Regions from separate parts of the Homo sapiens genome. Here region 1 is linked to region 2. The links are contacts of gene promoters, found by promoter capture Hi-C in blood cells and fetal thymus (Javierre and others, 2016). All regions are on one chromosome and are shown on one strand. Each heading gives the region's core, a stretch centred on a gene start or on the middle of the fragment in contact. The rest is flanking DNA. Distances are from core to core; before and after follow the strand shown.

Region 1 (7,550 bases), core at 2,400-4,899, 900 kb after region 2:
TTAATTTTTGTGCCATTTTTCTCTGTTCTGATTCTTCATCTCTCTTGATAAACCTTCACAGCTTTCGTATTTGGCTTCTGCTTCTGCAACTACCCTTTAGCATTATTCACCAGGATTTCATTCCCTTCTGTTCTTATTTTACATTTTCTTTTTTCTTTTTTTTTAAGATGGAGTTTCACTCTTGTCGCCCAGGCTGGAGTGCAATGGCACGATCTCAGCTCACTGCAACCTCCCCTTCATGCATTCAAGCAATTCTCCTGCCTCAGCCTCCTGAGTAGCTGGGATTACAGGCATGTGCCACCATGCCTGGCTAGTTTTTGTATTTTTAGCAGAGATGGGGTTTCACCATCTTGGCCAGGCTGGTCTTGAACTCCTGACCTCATGATCCACCCACAGTGGCCTCCCAAAGTGCTGGGATTACAGGCATAAGCCACCACGCTCGGCCTTATATTACATTTTCTTTGTGGACAATCTCACATACCCTTGGCTTCTATCTATACTACTTGTTCTTAAGCTCTGAACTTTGAGTTATCTTTTAGCTAGAAATTACTGCTTCAACTGTAACATTTTGAAAATTGAAGTATTCACTTTTGTGGGGGCAAACTAAGCCTTCTTCTGCATTCATTTTTTTGACAAATGGCACCGCAGACACTTGATTGCCTAAACAAAGAATCAGGTAGATCTCCATATCTCTTCTGTATAACTGACTCATCAAACAATCATGTCATGTTAATTTCTACTTCCTATCTTTCCATTTGTCCCTTCTTCTCCACTTTCTATGTTATAGGCTGAATTGTGTCCCCTTACAATTCATATGTTGAAATCTTGTCCCCTGGTACTTCATAGAATAATACTTTATGTGGAGATAGGGCCTTTTAAAAGTAATTAAAGTAAAATGAGGCTATTGCGTGAAGCCCAAATCCAATATGACTGGTGTTCTTATAAGAAGGGGGAGAGACATCTAGAATGTGTATGTACAAAGAAGAGGCCATGTGAGGATGCAATGAGAAGGCAGTGGTCTGCAAGCCAACAGGAGAGGCCTCAGGAGAATCCAGTGTTGTCAACCCTTTAATCTTGAGGTTCCAGCTTCCAGATCTGTGAGAAAATAAATTTCTGTTGTTTAAGCCACTGAGTCTGTGGCATTTTGTGATGGCAGCCCAAGCAGACTGATAAACTCTGGTTCTTGAAATTCCTCACTGGGCTTTCTGCAAAGTCTTGACTCCTTTCAGTCTTTTCTGAACATTTAAAATACAAATCTGATTATTTCATTTCTTTACTGCAAAAAGCTTTCAGTTATTTTAGAATGAACTCCATAAGCCTTCATGGGATAGATAATGCCTTTCTGGTGTGCATCTCTTCTGACTCCAAGTTCCCCTGCCATCCCCACACCAGTTATATGAGGCAGCTAACAAATGGCTCCTATTATTCACATGGCTATGAGTCTTCACATCCCCACTCTGTCGAACTATTCCTTCTGCTTTTGATGCCTGTCCCTTCCTTTTGTCTTCTAAGAAAATCCTTATTCTTCAAGTCTCAGCCTTAGCATTATCTCCCTAGGTCCCTCCTCCCCCAGGTTGCCCACACACAGGTGCTAGCTCCTCCCTATCCACATGTCACCCTGTACGGTATATTGTGATTTATTGCCTAGACTCTAAGTACTTAAACACAACATCTGGTTTTTCAACTTTGTCCTTGGTGCCTAGAATAGCTTCTTACACATGGGAGGTATTCAGTTGACAGGTGAATTTGTTAGAAAGAAGCCTTAAGCTTTGTCTATATGGTTTAAGCATACAAAAACTATTTTGAGTAAGGAGGAATATTTAGCCTGTTTTTGAGGTTGATTTTGAAACCTACAAGGTTAGAAGTATTTGTCTTGAATACTCCATATACTTTTCATTACTTTTAGTAATGTTTTGTTGGTTTCTGTCAGACCAACTTCTTAGCTTTTGATTTTGTTAGTTGTATTTTTTAAATGTATTTTTTTCATCCTAGATTCTATAAACTTTCTACATATTTAGAAGTTTACTTTTATTCTAACACTAAGGTATTTTTTTCCTCCCAGTCATGTGGAATGCCTTTATTAACTTTGCATTTTCATGAAGCTGATTTGTGTTATGAATTCCACTAATGAAGAACATATTTCCTTTGAAGTCCTTCTGGAAAATACCTAAATTAGAGATCATCTAAAGTGACAACTTTCCAAAAGGCCAAGGCTGTCATGTTCCATGTAAACTTCAAACAAGTGATTATTCATCCATGCAACAAGGTACTGGCAGAATGAGGACCCTGGAACTGACTTCTAGCTCAGTGCTACCATACCAAAGGAAATGAAAAATGCATATTGCAAAAGAAAAGGAAACACAGGAGCTTCAGGAAAGCAAAAAGCAATACAGAAAATAATGTTTTCCAAATATACTACCGAGCTCTTCAGTGAAAGATACGTACATAGTTCAGTAATATACTGTTTTAGAATCATTTCATAGGCAAAGCACAGTAAACACTGATTACAGCACAGAATTTAAGTATGACCTTGACCACATAAAAAGACAGTTGTGAAAACCTGGAAGAATGAAGAAGAGGGGTGGAAAGAGACCTAAGGGGAAAAGAGTTCATGTTGATATCCTCATTTTATGAGAGGGATGATGGGGAGAAGAGAGAAATTAAGAAATATGTCTCTGGTAGAGGGATTATATATCTTGAAGGGTAGCAGAGTATGCCACCCCAAAATATGCCATTTTGGCATACAAATTATTTTGAGCTTGTAACAGCAGATGCAAGAAGGATGCTTTGACCACCCCTTTTTCTTCCTAAAACAGGACATAAAAACTCCCATATGGAAGATGTCCTGTCTATACCAGAAGGAAAGTTAAATTTTTGTCATAAGGGCTGAGAAAAACCTGTACAAACCAACCTTGTTAAAGAAACCCTTATTGTATTAGTCCATTTGTGTTGCTATAAAGTAATACCTGAGTCTGTGTAATTTACAAAGAAAAAAGTTTATTTGGCTTACTGTTCTTCAGGCTATACAAGCAAGCTGGTGCCAGCATCTGCTTCTGGTGAGGCCTCAGGAACCTTACAATTATGGTGGAAGTAGAAGGGGAAATCTACGTATCACATGGTGAGAGCAAGCAGAGGAGGTTCCAGGCTCTTTTAAACAACCAGCTCTAGCATGAATTGATAGAGAACTCACTACCACTAGGACAGCACCAAACCCGGTTACTCATGAGGGATGTGCCTCCATGACCAAAACACCCCCCACCAGGCCCCTCCTCCAACACTGGGGATCACATTTTAACATGAGATTTGAAGGGGACAAACATGCAAAATATATCTCATTTTCCCAGTTACTGTTCCACCATTTTCTGCCCTGGCCCCAGCCCCTTTGTCTTGCCACATTTTTGTAATTTACTACTCTTTGTCCAATTCAATATGAAGTATTCAACTCTTACTAATTTGTTTGCTTTTCTCCTGTTAATTTGTCTTCTATTACAGAGCCCCAGCTGGGGCTCCTAAAATGGACAGAGAAAAGATTTTTTCCTCCCCTACAGCTGATTAAAGCTATGGGGGTAATCAATACAGCATCTAAAATGGTAATACAGGTTGATTATCCCTTATCCAAAATGCTTGGGAACAGAAGTGTTTTGGATTTTGAGTTTTTTTGTTTTAGAATATGTGCAGAATACATACCAGTAGAGCATTCCTAATCAAAAAATACGAAATCTGTAATGCTTCAGTGAGCATTTCCTTCAAGCATCATGTTGATGCTAAAGAAATTTCAGATTTTGGAGCATTTCAGATTTCAGATTTTCAAATTAGAGTTACTCAATGTGTATAACAATGTTAGGAGATGGAATAAAAGAGAAGCAAGAAGAAAATGTCTCAAGAAATTCTCTTACTGTAGGAAGTCAGTAGACAATATTTAAATATATTAAAGATAAAAAATACGTAAAGGAGAAATTTTATCAGAAGATAATAGCCATTGTGATTATATGTAAATATGTCTTGGAATTTTCTGGCAGCCGAGAAAAAAGATGATGGATAATGAAGATTTTACATTTGATAGAAGGAAGCACTCAGTTTTCCTCCTGATAATTTTTTCTGGCACCAAAATTTAGAAGGAAGTTACATTGTGAATTATTATGTAAAGAATGTTAACGAACAAATGTCTTTGCTAAAGTTTAAATAGAAAGACCATATGCAAGGAGACAGAATTTGGGATCTCCAGGAAAATCATTTTGGCTATCAAGAAATCTCAACATGGATTAGCTTTGTGTGTATGTAACTTATTCACTCAGCAAACATCTAAACTTGTAGTTATTTCAGGCACTGGATCGCGGCTACTGAATTTCTACAGTTAAAGAAGATAAGACCCATCATTTCAGAACTTGATCTAGGTAGGAATTAGTAGCCAAATGGCCTTTGGTAGTAACTGGACCTTGTCAATATCTACTAAGATTGTATGTGTCTGATATGATGAATAAATATACATAAAAGAAATCACTTTATCAAGTTACAGTTATAATCAAAGATACTCCAATTACCAGAATTTTCATATTTCCAAACCACAATACATCCTCTCCTGGAAGCATAATCAGCAGGTTACTTGATGACTGTGGGATTGAAGTGATGTGAGATAGGTAGCAAGGGGCATTTCAGGCATTTTGTGATGACGCTTGATTAAATATCCACCCTTCTTCAGCAGAGACCACTCTAAGGGGACCAGATTGCCCAAGTTGCCCGGATTGAGTTGTGCTGCCTTGGACAGTTCTCAACACATATATTGGCTATGTTTAAGTCTCAAGTGACATACTTTATTAGATTTGTACATATAGATTAAGCTACACCTCAGTTCTAGGAAAGTCACTCTTCTGACCTTTCTCCCTCTCCATGCATATTTTAATTTGGTAAGTTTTATTGGGGGCTACCTTATTCTTCTCATTGGCAAAATCACGAGAAGCACTTCTAATACCACCCATAATCTTCACCTGTGATTTCACAGGGAATTTGAACACTTTCTTTGTAGAACAGAGTCCATAAACAAAGATTAACTTATAACCTAGGGATAGGATAGCATTTCTCTGGAGAACTAAGCCTTTATGGTCAGGAATATAGTTTTCTGTGTGGTTCCCCCATAGGCTCATATCTGCTTCAGCTCTACACTGAAGCTGCTGGATAGTGCTCAAGACAAGTACGTGTGTAAAGCAATGTCTTCTGTTGCCCTAGAAGACACTTTTGATAGCAGATAAGGAGACAACAAAGTTAACACTTGGGGAAATTAGGAAGCACTCAGAGTACCTCATTTCCACATCAAGAGGTGATGTTTCTGTTGACCAAAACAAAATTTGTATCTAAAAGAAATTATTTTTTTACTTGCTCAGAGTTCATTCAGTGGCTCCCCAGGAGCATCTATGATATACTAGATTCTATTCTGGATCTTATTCTAATATTTAATGAAAAGCACTACCAAACTTGATATCTACTGTGCTTACCAGTTTAAGTTCCACTTTCTACTATATTTACCTGAAGCTTTTTGAAAACCTGAAGTGTGTGTATAAGTAAATATTTATACACACACAAAATCTCCATTGTGGAAGACCAGTCTTCCCAGTAAAAGAGTAATTTAAAGGAAATGTAAGTTTATCCCTGATGCATACAGTAACTCCAATGCTGACAAAATATAATCAAGCCTTAAAAGACTTCTGTAATGAATTTAGTGACTCATTCACTTGAACCAATACTTGAGTGCCTAGTATGTATTGGAAACTGCTATAAAATGGAGAAACAAATGAAAACACAAAATCGTGCCTATTTTCAAAGGTGTTTCGAAGCCAGGGGGGCAAATAGACTCAGAAAATTATAATGTCACAAATGCTATAAATGAGAATGCAGTGAGGCTAAAAGTGATACTCCCTTGAGCTTAGGAAAGGCTCAAAACTCTTGAGATAAGCAAATGCTAACCAAATTACAGGCAATAAATTCTTTTAAGCAGAAAGAATCTGGCTTTGGTTTAGTGAAACTATAATGGCTTTAGACAGTGGCAAGGAAGTAACAGTGGGGAAACGTCCTGAAGGGGCTGTGTGACTAGGGGCTATGTGACTAGGGGGCTGTGTGACTAGGGGCTGCGTAACTAGGGGGCTGTGTGACTGGGAAGCAGGGCTGCTGCATTAGAGGTGAGACAGATGGGAAGCCCGGGAGAAGAGTAGGGGCTGCTTCAGCAGTACAAACATGTGAAACATGGTAACCAGATGTCTCCCTCAAAATTACACTCAACCCTGGGAAAAAGGGAAACCCCAAATCAACTGACATTAAGTTTCTGCTCCCTAAGTGGTATGAGAAACAAACTAAGTCATTACAGACATAAATTCTATTTCTTGCATGCCTAAGTTTGCAAAATAAAGTTGTTCATAACCAAAACTAAATATTCTTAGTTACATCACTAGTAAATATTCTGATTTTAACTTGCCACTTAATTGTTCTGTAAATTAGTTACTCCACTATGGGAATAGAGAAAACATTTTTATACTTACATTGTCAAAGTAAAACCTCCTTAAGTTGTACTTACTATTTCAGAATGTTTGATTATTCTCAAGGTTTGTGAACATTTTCTATGAAGGGCCAGATAGTAAATAGGCTTTCACGACCACACAAGGACCCTGTCCCCCCACCCCCCACCCTTTTTTTTTGTTTTCCTTTTTACAACCCTTTAAAAATAAAGATAAATAAATAAATAAAATGCTTGGATTTGTTTTCCTGGCTGTAGTATGCCAACCCCTGAATTGTTCCATTAATCACTTTGCTTAAGGTAGTTTGAGCTTGATGGAACAAAGACAAGTAGGCTAAAGACAAATACAAACTTGGGAGATTGTTAATGAGAAAGAACTTTTTTCAAACACTTTTAGCACATTTCACAATTTTTTAAAGGCTAAACAACTTTTATTCTGAGTTTAAAGGTGATATGAACTTGTAAAATAATTCAAACAACTCAGAAATTGTGGCTGAACAAGAAAGTGAGTGAGCAGAATACGCATTGATCTTCAGATTTCTTTGGGGATCCATTCATCCCACATCTTCTCATATGGAACCCAGTTGGAGAAATGATGGACAAACTGATCTCTAAGTGACCTTCACCTCTAATATTTGTGACCGATTTCTTTCTTTTGGTTAAAGAGAATTATAAGTGAGACTCCAGGGTTAAAAATTGTTGAGTACAAGAGGTTTTTCTCTTTGTGCCGCAGTTTCCTCATCTGCAAAATTGGGATAATAATACTAACCGGTTCATGGGACTATTGAGGGCACTAAATTTGTATAAAGTGCTTAGTATAGTGCCTGTGAAGTGTTAAACTCAATATTTATTAGCTACTATTGTTACTATTTCTAAGATAACTTTATTTCATAATGCTCTTTAACCATCAGGGCTTCAAACCCTTTAAGAAATGCACCTTAACCCCTTTTTCACTTTGCTTCATTGCTTGTCTTCCTGTACCTTAACCCTAGGTTAAGTAACTAACGAGTCAAAAACAAGCACTTAGTTGTATTATGAGAGCTCAAAG
Region 2 (7,229 bases), core at 4,724-7,223:
ATGTTTATCAAAATCAAAATCTTTATAGGTTTTATCAAAATCAAAATCCCACCCAAAACACACATACCTGTGCATGCATGTGCACACACACACAGACCCACGAGTCTGAACAGAGGAATGTAATTTTATCAGTAATTATAAGGGTAAAGAGACTATTAGTCTGCAAAACAACAAAAACCCCCATACAAACAAACCGGAAACAAGCCATATGCTGTTTATGTGAGATGCACCATTTGCATGTTTAAAAAAAAAACCACGGAAAATGGAAAAATAAGATAATAAGAAAAAAATGAATAAAAACATAATTTACAATGTAAAAATAACTTTCAATATAGTCTTCATTTTTTAATTGATAAATATTATATACATTTATGGTGTACAGCATGTTTTCAAATATGTATATATTGTGAAATAGCTAAATCAAGCTAATATATGCCTTAACTCACATATCTATTATTTGTGATGAGAAAATTTAAAATCTACTTTCAGCAATTTTCAAGTATACAATACACTGATATTAACTATAGTCACCATGTTGTACAATAAATATCCTTTGCATAACTTATAACAAAGAAGATCAACAATAAACAAAGGTTGGTGCTCTGAAAAGACTGAAAGTGTTCCAGCCTGGCCAACATGGTGAAACCTCGTCTCTACTAAAAACACAAAAATTAGCCAGACATGGTGGTGCACGCCTGTAATTCCAGCTATGAGGCTGAGGCAGGAGAATCACTAGAACCCGGGAGGTGGAGGTTGCAGTGAGCCAAGATCGCACCACTGCGCTCCAGCCTGGGCGACAGAGCAAGACTTTGTCTCAAAAAAAAAAAAAAAAAAAAAAAAAAAAGACAAAAAAAGACTGAAAGTGTTGTAAAAGCTTTGGTAAGGCTACTATAAAAAAACAAGAGAAAGCAAAATAGATAATATGAGAAAAAGAGAGTACATATTATATGGAGAGCAGAAAATTTTAAAAAAATACCAGAAACTTTATGCCTATATATTGAAACAATACAAAATGGAAACCTTTCCAGAAAAAGTTAACTTACCAAAACTGACTTAAGAGGAAACCTGATAAATATAATAATAACCATTATAGAAGTTAAACAAGTAATTTAAAGTCTTCCCTCGAAGAGAAGAACAGGTCTAGACAGTTTTGCAGGTGAGTTGTAACAAACCCTCAAGGAACAAATAATTCCAATCTTAAACAAAATCTAACAAAGAAGGGAAAAGAGTGAGTAGAATCCCCAGTACATTATATGAGGCTAGAATAACCTTAATATTAAAACCAGGGAAGGCTGGGCGCGGTGGCTCACACCTGTAATGCCAGCACTTTGGGAGGCCAAGGCAGGCATATCACGAGGTCAGAAGTTTGAGATCAGCCTGGCCAATATGGTGAAACCCTGTCTCTACTAAAAATACAAAAATTAGCTGGGAGTGGTGGCGTGTGCCTGTAATCCCAGCTACTCCGGAGGCTGAGGCAGAAGAATAACTTGAACCCGGGAGGCAGGGGTTTCAGTGTATAATAGAAGAAAATTACAGGCCAATTTCTAAACAAAATATAAGCACAACAAATACAACATTATATTTAAAAATATAATCACTATGATCCTTTGGAATATTTTCTAGGAATGCAAGTGATTCACTATCAGAAAAATCTGTAATTTACCACCTCAACAGATTAAAGCAGAAAATGATAAACACCTCAGTAAGACGAAGAACACCTCAGTAAGACAAAGAAAAATCAATTAAGTAAACTTCAAGATTTATTCATCATTAAAAAACAAATACAAATACATAAACAAAAACAAAACAAAATCCCAAAACTCTACATAGAAACAGACTTCCTTAACCCAAAAAGGGTATAACTGTAGCTAATACCATATTTTTTTTTTCATGTTCCATGAAATTTTATTTCACAAAGGCTTGGACTCTGAAGACCCACAGTTATGGATCATTAAATCCTGTAAGTAAATGTAAATCCAAAATAAAGAGTTTTAACAAAAACATAAGACGGAGATTTTTTGGTTTAAAAGAACAGAATTATTTGGGAGATAGCTAGAACTCTTCCCTGAGGATTCGTTTATAAAACATGCCTTAGAAGTTATTAGGAGATGGTGACTTAAAAAAAAATGTAGCAATTTTATCTAAATGACTGCAATATCACACCTTAATGATAAAAAGAAATGCATTCCCTTTATAATCATAAACAAGATAAGTATGCTTGCTGTCAACACTTCTAGTCAACATGGTGCTGGAAATCTGAGCAAAGAAAGAAAAAAGATATAAGGATTAGACAGGGAGGGTGGTGGGGGGCACGGTGGCTCTCGCCTGTAATCCCAGGACTTTGAGAGGCCGAGGCTCTCAAGGATCACTTGGCTAACATGGCAAAACCCCATCTCTAAAAAAAATATAAAAATTAGCCGGGCATGGTGGTGCACACCAGTAATCCCAGCTACTCGGGAGGCTGAGGCAGGAGAATCACTTGATTTCGGGAGGTGGAGGTTGCAGTGAGCAGAGATTGCGCCACTGCACTCCAGCCTGGGTGACAGAGCAAGACCCTTTCTCAAAAAAAAGGATTAGACAGGGAGAAACTAGACTGTCACCATTTGCAGATGATATGAATGGCTATGCAGCAAAGTCCCCAAAATCTGCAAAGTAAATTATTTAAATTAATAAGGTAATTTAGATACAAAATCATTAAGCATCATGTTTCTGTACATAAACAACAGTCAGAAAATAGTAAGATTTATAACAAAGTTATGGCTATAATTATCAAGACAGGTAGTATCAGCACAGGAATAGACAAATAGGTCAATGGGACTGAGAAAAGAGCCAAGAAATAAACGTATGCCTATATGTATAAGTAAACTTGATTTATGATGGCTCGCATTATATCAGTAGGGGAAAGGTCCTATAAATACATGAACCTGGGACAAGTGTTTGATATGAAAAAAAATGAAAACTGGTTTCCTGCCTCACACCATATACAAACCATCAATTCCTGGTAGAATAAAGGCTTAAATGTGAAAAGCAAAACTATAAACCTTTGAGAAGAAAATATAAGAGATTATGTCCATGACTTTAGGGTACAGAAGGGTTTCTTAGACAAGACCACAAGGCAGTCACAATAAACAAAAGGATCAAGACAAAATTTTATAGATAAAATTATAAACATCTGTTTATTAAGATACCTTTTATATTGAAGCTGCATGATTACACATGCAGACCCGTTATTCTATTCTGCCTAGCAGTGACAGAAACAAACCACAAATTGAGGTATTTGACACTTACGTAACTAAAAAAGGTTTAGCATACAAATATATGTAAAGAATATAAATAAGAAGCAATCTGTTAAGAAAAAAGGCCGGGCGTGGCAGCTCACGCCTGTAATCCCAACACTTCGGTAGGCCGAGGCTGATAGATCACCTGAGTTCATGGCAAAACCCTGTCTCTACCAAAAATACAAAAAATTATCTGGGTGTGGTGGTGGGCGCCTGTAATACCAGCTACTTGGGAGGCTGAGGCAGGAGAATCGTTTGAACTCAGGAGGCAGATGTTGCAGTGAGCTGAGATCTCGCCATTGCACTCCAGCCTGGGCAACAAGAGTGAAACTCCGTCTCAAAAACAAAGAAAGAAAAAAGAGGCCGGGTGCGGTGGCTCACGCCTGTAATCCCAGCACTTTGGGAGGCCGAGACGGGCGGATCACGAGGTCAGGAGATCGAGACCATCCTGGCTAACACGGTGAAACCCCGTCTCTACTAAAAATACAAAAATTAGCCGGGCGTGGTGGCGCGCGCCTGTAGTCCCAGCTACACGGGAGGCTGAGGCAGGAGAATGGCGTGAACCCAGGAGGCGGAGCTTGCAGTGAGTCGAGATCGCGCCACTGCACTCCAGCCCGGGCGACAGAGCGAAACTCCGCCTCAAAAAAAAAAAAAAAAAAAAAGAAAAAAGAAAGAGGTATTTCACAAAAAGTGAATATTTGAAAAGATGTTTTACTTCTTTAATCAGAGAAAAGCAAAATCACAATGAGGTGTCATTTCATTTCCCTGTAGGCAGCCAAAAATTAAAACCTAAGGCAAAATTAAGTTTCGGCAAGTTTGTGGAACAACAGAACTCCAATACACTGCTGGTAGAAGTGAAAATTGCTATAGAATTAGAAAATGCCGTTACACCTTGGCATTATATTGTAACAATGAAAAGACCTATAACATACTCCAGGAATTCTACTCCTTCCACTAATGCACAAATAAGGTACACAAGAATGTGTAGCACCCAATCCTAGTGTTTCTGGAATTACCCAAATGTCCTTTGAGAAGGGCACTGGAAAATGCATCATATGTTCACACAGTTGAATGAATAACTACAACCTCATGCGTCAATGTGACTCAATCACAAAACACAGCGTTATCTGAAAAAAAATCAACAATATGAAAACATTTCTATAAAGATTAAAAACACCATTGCACAGTTGTATCAGGAAGCAGCAAATAGAGACCTCCTTGGCAATAGAGACTATTTCTTAAATTGGAGTATAAGTTCATAGATGCTGGTTGTGCTTCATAGCTTACATGACTGCTACATAGCTTACATGTGTGCTACGTGTGTGTGTGTGTATACATATATATATATGGAATAATTCATAATTGTTTAAAACTAGTTAAAGGGGGATGTTGAATGAACCCTACAAAATTTTAACGTTATTACCTTGAGGTTTGGATAATGTAGGACTTTCACTTTCTGTATTATTCATTTCTGGACTATTTAAAACTTATACAATTAAGTAAAATGTTTGTATTTGGGTAAAATGATTGCACAAAGGAAAACAAATTGCATAGAAATCTGGCACCATTTGAGGGCAATAATTACTGTTTTCAACTTACATAACTTCTCCAGGTGTCATATATTAAAATTATGTTTTGCGGACCGGGCGCGGTGGCTCACGCCTGTAATCCCAGCACTTTGGGAGGCCGAGGCGAGCGGATCACAAGGTCAGGAGATCGAGACCATCCTGGCTAACACGGTGAAACCCCGTCTCTACTAAAAATACAAAAAATTAGTCAGGCACGGTGGCGGGCGCCTGTAGTCCCAGCTACTCAGGAGGCTGAGGCAGGAGAATGGCGTGAACCTGGGAGGCAGAGCTTGCAGTGAGCCGAGATTGCGCCACTGCACTCCAGCCTGAGGGACAGAGCGAGACTCCATCTCAAAATAAATAAACAAATAAATAAATAAATAAATAAAATTATGTTTTGCATAGTCTGGGCTGCTAACTGTATTATCTTGAGAAAAATTTCCAACAACAATGGGTTTAAAAATGTTGGTTTTACTGAAAGCATGAATGCTTTTTCTGTACTGACAATTCCTGGCTTCATCTAATTTACGTTATACTTATTTGCCTTTGGCTCACTTCTGCACTTTTCCCATTTTTAAAAGATAAACTGTAAACTGCCACAAATCCTTTTCTGCTGGAGCCTGGACCAGGAGCGCGGATTCCTGTAAATAATGATGTAAATAAATAAGTAAATCAATGACTCCCATTCCCAAAGGGCCTTCTTTTCCATTTTTCTCTGGGGCATCGAAGTGCGGTGTGCCCTGCGAGCTCCCACAGGAACAACCCGGAACGTTTGTGGTCCTGTTGGGCCACCGCGTGCTCGGTAGGAAGCGGACGTCCCGGGGGCTGAAAGGGCCTTAGCGATTTTCTCGCTCTAGTCCCACCCGAGACCCGGGGCGCTGCAGGAACCTGCCCAGGCCACCGGGTGGGCGGCTGGGCGGGAGAAGCTGGGCAGCCCCTGGCAACACCGAACGGCCAGGACACACGCGGCTTCCTCCGCGGGAGGCGCTTCTCTCTGCGCCTGGGCCTTCACGACCCCTCCCGCGACCGTGGCCCCGAGGCCAGGTGCTTACTTGCCGCTCTCCACGCCGTGGCCGAGACCCAGCTAAGCAACCAGGGAAGCCTCGATGGGGTCATGGCGCCGACTCCCCGAGCCTCCGCGCAGGCGCAAAGCAGTAGTGGGAGGAGCAGGGGGCATGATCCGGAGCCTCCCTGCAGAGGGCGGGGCCTCCGTGGCCGGCTTTAGAAAAGGAGTTAGAGGCATCCCTGGGCTCTTTGGCCAAGAGAGACCCAGGCTACCTTGAGCCCGGTGTTAAAACGCCAAATCGTGGCTGCAGTTAGAAGAGGGAATAATTCCGTTCCGTTCATGCTTGTCAGTCTGAGCCGAAATGGCCCGTGGAAGATCCCTTTTATAGTTTACAAAGATTGAGCACCTTTTACTCTCTCACTCATGTAAAATGCTTCTTTTACCTAATTCTCCCTGTTTTGTGTTTTAAATCTTTGTTCAGTCAGCTCCTAGTTCGTCCATTCTGACCGACTAACCAGATGATATGAAAGGCGACATTTTTGAATGAGGTGCAAAGCAAGAAAAGGCTCTCCATCCAGGCCAGGATCCAGTGCAATGAGCTCTGCCCCTTAACCCTTACATCCCACCAGCTCTGATAGCGTTGAGTGGATGTGGCAGACCTGGATGCTTTGTGCAACTCGTGGAAATATTTACAGAATCATAGTGAAGGCCCCCAGAATTCTGGAATTTTGTCTTTTCTTTTAAAGAAAAGTTTCTGGCTAGCTATTGCGCCTTGGTAGTGTCTGACCATGTGACATCAAGTGGTTATACGATCGAAGCTTCTTATCATGAACTGAGAATTATCTGGTTCTCCTAGATAAGGAGATCCTTTTACGAAGAGAAAGTGGGCCGGGCAAGGTGGCTCACTCCTGTAATCCGAACACTTTGGGAGGCCGAGGCGGGTAGATTACCTGAGGTCAGGAGTTCGAGACCAGCCTGGCCAACACTCTACTAAAAATACAAAAATTAGCCGGGCGAGGTGGCACATTCCTGTAATCCCAGCTACTTGGGAGGCTGAGGTAGAAGAATCGCTTGAACTCGGGAGGCGGAGATTGCAGTGAGCAGAGATCACGCCACTGCACGCCAGCCTTGGAGACAGAGCAAAACTCCATCTCAAAAACAGAAAAAGAAAAAAGAGAGAAAGTGGGATACACAGAACTGGGCCAAAGTCAAAACGGAAACAGTTTTCATTTGTAGGGAGCTCACAGTCCTAATATCATGCTTTTGACCTTTAGCTTATATCTACAGTTTAATAATGAATTCCTTGTGACTAGCTGACTGAGGAAAAAATTCAAAGTCGGATGATGGCTTTGCTCAATAAACTGGCCCAGCTGGCAA

The links. The method cuts DNA at HindIII sites, captures the fragments that hold promoters and counts their contacts. A CHiCAGO score of 5 or more calls a contact.
Region 1: a fragment that was not itself captured here is called in contact with the fragment with the promoter of SDHAF4 in region 2 in 1 of 17 cell types (total CD8 T cells); the score reaches 5.4 in total CD8 T cells.

Annotation. Positions count from the first base shown.
Region 1 is chr6:69,667,588-69,675,137 of GRCh38, reverse strand. It overlaps LMBRD1 (LMBR1 domain containing 1), which reads left to right. Exons shown (of 16, transcript NM_018368.4): 16 at 1-1,128. Among named protein-coding and RNA genes, the nearest start is that of LMBRD1, 130 kb to the left of the region's middle. The HindIII fragment of the contact is 3,759 bases long and covers 1,770-5,528 here.
Region 2 is chr6:70,565,674-70,572,902 of GRCh38, reverse strand. It overlaps SDHAF4 (succinate dehydrogenase complex assembly factor 4), which reads right to left and starts at 5,973. Exons shown (of 3, transcript NM_145267.3): 1 at 5,899-5,973. The coding sequence starts at 5,962. RefSeq lists a silencer at 5,626-5,685. The HindIII fragment of the contact is 5,796 bases long and covers 877-6,672 here.